Linked DNA regions of Homo sapiens: region 2 is linked to region 1. Evidence: promoter capture Hi-C in human tissues and cell types (Jung and others, 2019). All regions are on one chromosome and are shown on one strand. The core of a region is centred on a gene start or on the middle of the fragment in contact, and the rest is flanking DNA. Distances in the headings are between cores, read along the strand shown. Region 1 holds the start of GTSCR1 (Gilles de la Tourette syndrome chromosome region, candidate 1). Region 2 has its middle 54 kb from the start of GTSCR1.

Region 1 (3,692 bases), core at 691-3,190:
TGTATCTGATTAGGATATGCCACATCCCACTTTCCAACCCACATATCTATAAAGACAAAATCTGAATCACATGGAAAAGCAAGCTATTAGTAAACAATTTGCAGGAGTCTGAGAAAATTTATAACTATAGAGTAGATAACACTTCAGTTTTAAACATAATCAGTGACTTATACTCAACTTGTTCTCAGAAATGTCATCTTACAAGTTGGTATAATAACCCAGTTCAGAAATATGGAATATACAAGTTACAGGAAAGTGGTTAGGCATATTCAAATTTTTGCACCCAACCATGCTCTACCCTCTTAGCCACACTATGGGTATTATTTTCTGAGGCAGTCAAAATTGACTGCCACTCATTTTTCAAAATCTGTTCTATGACTGCAAGCTCTCAAAGACAGCAATGCAGAAAGGATAGGAGATTGAGTCCTGCATATGGACTCTTCCATAAATCAATGTGATGAAGGACAATATAATCTCTTATCTTGCTGAAAATTAGTGAGCAAGACCCATGTCATATTCATATTGTGCCCTACTTAGTGTCTCACTCATAATAAACACAACAAATACTTTACAAATGAAGAAGATGACTTCTATAAATCAGTGTGATCAAGGGCAGAGACACTAGCCCTGGTGATTGGAATTTCCCTGGAAGAACTACAACATGACTCCAATTATTTGAAAAATGAAATAGCTCACTAATATACAGGGAAGACTGAATATTAGAAGGCCCACATTAGACACATGCATTCTAGACCTAATTTGGGCCAGACATGTGCTCATTAGTGTATAATTCAACTTCAGATCTGGGGAAGGGGGTTGCAAGGTGGGGAAGGGCAGGGAATTCTTTTAGTCACATGTCCAATCCATACAGTACTCTCAGTCATTTGAAAACATAAAATCCAGGAAGGCAAGGCCAGCTTGCCTCTCCTTACCATCTGTTCACTCTCTCAGCTTCAGGGAACTTCAGGGAGCAGTTATACCGGGTACATCACAAATGTTTGACCTCAGCCACAAATGTTTGACCTCTGTGAATGCCACCAGCATCCAATAAATAGCTCAATATAGAGACCTAGGAATTATCTAAGACTCCTCCACTGCCCCAGGTTACATATCCAACCTTTATCGATCTTATCCATTTTACTTCCCAAATATCTCTCATTTTTCTCCATTTCCATTATTCCCACAGTAGTCCAAGCTAATGTCATCTTTCTCCAGTAATATGCCATCACTTGCTAACTGATCAAGCAATATCCACACTGCAAACCTCCTTCAGACGATCTATTCTGCCCTGCATAACCAGAGTGTCCCTTTCAAAATTCAAATCCAGTGTCACTACCCAAATCCCATCTCGAATTGTAACCCCCATGGTTTGGCTCTGTGTCCCCACCCAAATCCCATCTCGAATTGTAACCCCCATGTGTTGAGGAAGGGACCTGTAATCCCCAAATCTCAAGGGAAGGAGGTGACTGGATCATGTAAACAGTTTCCCCCATGCTGTTCTCATGACAGTGAGTGAGTTCTCATGAGATCTGATGGTTTATAAGTGTTTGACTGTTCCTCCTTCATAGGCTCTCTCTCGCCTGCCACCACGTAAGACATCCCTCCTTCCCCTTCTGACATGATTGTAAGTTTCCTGAGGCCTCACCAGCCATGCGGAACTGTGAGTCACCTAAATCTCTTTTCTGTATAAATGACCCAGTCTCAGGCAGTTCTTTACAGCAGTGTGAAAATGGACTAATATGCTACCCCATCTCCATCCCACTGCCATCCTCCCTAAAGCCCTACAGTAGATTGCTGTTACTCTTAGAATCAAGACCAGACTGCTTCCGGGGTCTATACCACCTTCTGTGGTTTTGTCCCCAGCTAGTTTACATCACATGCCCCTCCTCTTCCTTTCTCCATCACATTTCACATTTGCCATTTACTTTTTTTTTTTTTTCATTTCAACCTTCCTTTGCTTTTACCCTATCATGCTCCCTCACCCCACAAAGCTTTTGTACATTCTGCATCTCCTTCCTGGAACATTCTACCTCCCTCTGCATCTAGGTCTCTGCCTGAGCTCAGGTTCCCTAAAAAGCCTGGTCTGAGGCAATGACTAAAAAGGCTCCTATTTTGTTTAAGGACGTGCAAACTCATGGCAAGAAGGTGAGGAAAACAGCTACGGAGGGAAGGATGAGAAGCAATGCAAAGTGACATATACCATCCTGGCCACAGCTTCCCAAGTTGGGTCCTTTGCTGGGTGCACTCATGTGGCCATGAGGGACATCTCAGAGAGACTGCAGAGGTAAGCAAGATCTCTTTCCTGAAACAGTTTGTTCATCAGAAAAAGGGAGAAGAGGAAATGAATCTTCCTAGCTCTTTCAAGGTCTTTTTTCCTTATTACTCAATTCCCTGAACAGGGGGTTAATTCACTCAGTTTCAGATTGTGACTTCCAGCCTCATTATTTGGGAAGCCAGGCTGCAAACCATAGTACATTATTTTATCCAAACCTTGAAGTAATGGGGAAAACATTAAAAAAAAAAAAAAAAAAAAAAAAAAAAACAGAGACTCGGGTGCACAGCTGGTTAGATTGGCTGTAGGTGGCAGCCAAGGGGAGAGCCTGGCCTTCTGAGGTGCAGACTGGTCACGTTTAGGCAGGAGCATGGGTCAGCCAAGGCTGTGGCCTAATTAGAGGATACAGTGGAGCATTAAGTCAATGGCGATGCACTCTTAGAATGTGGCTACGCCCCTTGTAACCACTATGGTATTTACAACCATTCTAAGGACACAGAAAACTTGTTCATAGTATTAAGAAAAAATGGTATATAAAACTGTGTATAAAGTATGTTTCAATTATAATCTTTAATTCTGTTAGAATTCTTTTTTCCCAAGAGTATGCATTAACTTTACAGTTTTCTTAAAAAAAAAAATGGAAGAAAACAGTTTCCAAGAAGAAGGGTCAACAGATTCCACAGTATTGACTCAGGAAAGTGCAAGCATTGCAGGGACCAGGAACATCCAGGCTGGCAAGAAGCCAAAACAGGAGGGAGCGGGGAGGGGCGCAGCCCCGAAGCAATGTTAGGAGGCTCTGACCACTTTCCGAAGAACGTTGTATCTCCAAGGCCTTCGCTTCTCTATCTGTAAATTTCAAACAAGATCCCGGTGTGTGATGTTCCCCTTCCTGTGTCCATGTGTTCTCATTGTTCAATTCCCACCTAAGAGTGAGAACATGCCGTGTTTGGTTTTGTGTCCTTGCGATAGTTTGCTGAGAATGATGGTTTCCAGCTTCATCCATGTCCCTAAAAAGGACATGAACTCATCATTTTTTATGGCTGCATAGTATTCCATGGTGTATATGTGCCACATTTTCTTAATCCAGTCTATCATTGTTGGACATTTGGGTTGGTTCCAAGTCTTTGCTATTGTGAATAGTGCCGCAATGTTGTGGGGTGGGGGGAGGGGGGAGGGATAGCATTAGGAGATATACCTAATGTTAAATGATGAGTTAATGGGTGCAGCACACCCACATGGCACATGAATACATATGTAACAAACCTGCACGTTGTGCACATGTACCCTAAAACTTAAAGTATAATTTAAAAAAAGTTCAAACAAGATCTTCATTTGGGTATAATGAAGAGAAAGTGAGGACATGCATCTGAAAGCTGACTCAGAAACTCTGACGCTCTTCCTACATTTCCTAACTGCTGCC
Region 2 (3,692 bases), core at 857-3,356, 54 kb before region 1:
CCCCCACTCGCCATCACTAGCAATAGTTTTTGTTGCTATATGACCAGTGAGTCCTCCAATTGGAACCCCATTCTTAGAATCTGCTTTTTAATATAACTTCTGGTATTATCCCTCTTAGTTTGAGTTCCTTAAATAGAAAATCCTGAGATAAGGACTTCCGTGCAGGTAGTTTATTTAGGATATTATCCAAGAAGCACAAGTGAAACAGTAGAGGAAGTAGGCCAGAGAAATGGAGAAGCTAATAAACAGGTGACTCTGATCACAACAGAGGCTTAATCCCCCTAGGGCATTCTGAAGGACCATGTCAAAATTTCTCAGAATTTTCCCACTGAAGGAAGAAAAATTCTGCTAACTCATTTTTTGCTGAAAACCGATGGTCATGACTTCAAATGCCTAATACTTGCTATAGCTCGCGTGACAGCTGAGCAAGATGTGCTGGCACCAAAAGAAAACTCTCAGGTAGGAAGGCTGAGGGATGAGGGTGCTTGAAATTGGAAGTGGCCAGTGAGTCTGGAAATAGTCCATCTCAGCTGCATGTGAGCTTAGAGCTGGACAAAGAGACAGCATCTGCCTCACTGACCATGCCTCTTCTCACCTTAAAATTATTCAAAGATTTCTTATTGCCAAGCCCTAAACCGTTTCTACAAGCAGTAACTCCCCCTATCCCTGAGCCCCCTAGGTCTCTGCCCTTCAGTCATGCTGGTCTATTTTCTGTTCGTCAAACATACCCAGGCAATATCAGTGCCTGTCCATGCATTACTCTGGCTAAAACACACTAGCCCTTATCTTTACTTTGGCTGTATCCAACACATACATCAGGTTTCTGGAATATCATTTCTCCAGAGATTGCTGTCCTGAAACGTCAGGTAAGGCAAGCTCCTACTGTGTTGCACTCCCACAACATCCTGCAGGTCCACATTTTTAACACTCTTTATCCTTACTGTTCCACAGTCAATGTCTGATCTGATCTTGCCCACTCGATTGTAAACTCCATGAGAAAAGTTTTATTTGTCTTGCTTCTCTAACATCTAGCCAAAGTATCACCCAGTAACCTCTTAACTAATATGTACTGATGGATGGATGGATGGATGGAAGGAAGGAAGGAAAGAAGGAAGGAAGGAAGGAAGGAAGGAAGGAAGGAAGGAAGGAAGGAAGGAAGGAAGGAAGGACTTAGAGCTAAAGTATAAGATTAGAGAACAATTGGCAGAGCTATTTTGATCTGAAATATTGAGCTAGTGGTCAGGGATTGATTTTAAAACCAGAGGTCAGACTCAGACAATAGGAAACAGAAAGAGGTCCAGATATGAAAATAGAAGACAGCCAGACTTGGGGCAGGCAGCATGCATTCCAGCAACCACCAGCCAATAGGTGCAACTGCTCATTACAATTTCTCTGCAGGGAAGACAATAATAACATGTCATTAACACACGCAAGCACATTTTACCTTCCCATTTGCTACAACATTAATTCAACAGATGCTCTTGGAGGGCCTGTCTGAAAGAGTCAAAGTTATTTGAGGAAACTTGTTAAGTTTACAGTTCTCAAAGAGTTCACAGTTTCATAACACAGAACGCAATCATTTTATTACATAATTTGGATATGAAGAGAATAAGCAGTATTAGGACATAACAGTCTTTGTAATAATTCAACATAATTATAGTATTTGTTATTTTTACCTATCTCTTTTTTGTAATAGAATTATGAAAAATACATTAAAGAATTATTACTAGACTAAGATTTATATTTGAATTTGTCATAGCATTTACAAACTGCAAATTTAAAGGTTTATGTAATTTTGACTAACAAGATAAACAAAACAGTCTCTAATTCTTTTTAAAATAATATAGAAGGAAGTACAAATGAAATCCTTAGTACAATAGTTGCTTCTGCAACTTTGCGCTTTATCAAGCATTCAGTGCGCTAGGTGAGTAACACCTATTTTGGTTGCCTTCCCCTTTTCAGGCTACCCTTTTAGTAGCAAATTCTTATGGCTTGAGTATTTATAAAGCCAGGAACATGATTATTTAGAAGAACCAAGATTGATGGAACTGCAGAAAGGTTACAATTTGTTTAATAGATATTCAATTAAGTAAGCAAATGCATAGAAAAGAACCCAATATAAAAAACTGTGCAGCAGGATTAACTTTCCATCCTTCCTCACACGTGTACTGGTGAACACTCAGCTGAGACTGGTTACTGCAGAGACTGTCATGGCTCCTGTCTAGATCCATTTTTGTTGCCTTCCTGACCCTGAGGCTCCAACCCAAGGTGTACACAGGTGCAACTCTGTACCAAAGCTGATATGATCATTATTGACCATTCTGATAGATTGTTGCTGCCACCAGTTGCATATACGTTGTGCTGTTATTTCTACTTCTGTCTAGTTATTACAACAAATCAGGATGTATTAATGTAAAGAAGATGTAGGAAAGAGTATATACTTTGGCAACACAGAGATCAGGACCCAGATCCCTGACCAGATACACATCTGCTCAGTTATCTTTCTGATTGATTTGAACTTTAGTTCCTCACCTGAAAAGTGGGGAGGAACATAGAAGAAACACCCTTACTTCAACACAATGGGCCTTCACGCATGTCCTGAACCTTCACTATACTTTCATGCAGGAAATATAAAACATACTTCTCCTTATGAATGCTCACATCTGCTGTGAATTAGTTCTGATTTGTGTCTGTGGTGTAGAAAAACTGATTCTCACAGGAATAAAAAATATATTTCAGAAAACCCAATCTTATTTTTTTATAGATAGAAAGAAAACATATAAGTAATACGGGAAGAAATTGAAACAGAGCAGAGTATCTATTGATTCTTTCCTGGGGGGAAATATATCTACAAAGATAATTGGGCCAAATAGTATAGAAAGGATTTAGGAGCATCAGTCAGGACAGAATCTCAACAACTTTCATTACACACTTCTCTTTTTCCAATTCTGTGTGTGTCTCAGTCTGCTTAGGCTGCTATGATGAACTACTATCAACTGAGTGGCTTATAAATAATAGAAATATATTTCTCACAGCTCTAAAGGGTGGGAAGTCCAAGATCAAGGTAAATTCAGTGTCTGGAGAGGACAGGGCAGCTTTCTGAGGCCTCCTTTACAAGGAAACTAATCCCATTCATGTGGGTTCCAGCTTCATAATCTAATTACTTCCCAAAGGCTCCATCTCTTAATATCATCACATTTGTAATTAGATTTCAACATATGAATGGGAGTACAGGGGCACAACATTCAGATCATAGCAGTGTATTTCAGAACACATATATTAGTGAATAATTAAAATGAATCACAGCTGAGGTCTTGCCAATATGAGATCAACTACACTCCTCCCCTTTGCCAGAGCACATCTTACGGTGCAGTGTGCAGGGCAATTTTCAGCTGTCCTCAACTTGGGTACTGGAAACTGAGTCTAATGCAACTATACCACTACCTAGTTCTGGGCCTTTGGAGAGGTGGTTGTAGTGGGTTGAAATGGTGGACCTCAAAAGATCTGTGTACACAGCACCTCAGATTGTGACGTTATTTGGGAAAAGGTTGTTTTTTGGAAATGTGACTCAGTTAAGAATCATTCTCAGCAAACTATCGCAAGGACAAAAAACCAAACATCACATGTTCTCACTCATAGGTGGGAATTGAACAATGAGAACACTTGGACACAGGAAGGGGGACATCACACCC

What was found. The method cuts DNA at HindIII sites, captures the fragments that hold promoters and counts their contacts. A contact is called where the count stands out against the background at its distance.
Region 2: a fragment that was not itself captured here is called in contact with the fragment with the promoter of GTSCR1 in region 1 in 1 of the 25 tissues and cell types used here (stomach).

What each region holds. Positions count from the first base shown.
Region 1 is chr18:70,649,202-70,652,893 of GRCh38, reverse strand. It overlaps GTSCR1 (Gilles de la Tourette syndrome chromosome region, candidate 1), which reads left to right and starts at 1,940. Exons shown (of 3, transcript NR_160904.1): 1 at 1,940-2,284. The HindIII fragment of the contact is 9,016 bases long and covers 1-3,692 here.
Region 2 is chr18:70,703,569-70,707,260 of GRCh38, reverse strand. No RefSeq gene overlaps it. Among named protein-coding and RNA genes, the nearest start is that of GTSCR1, 54 kb to the right of the region's middle. The HindIII fragment of the contact is 7,576 bases long and covers 1-3,692 here.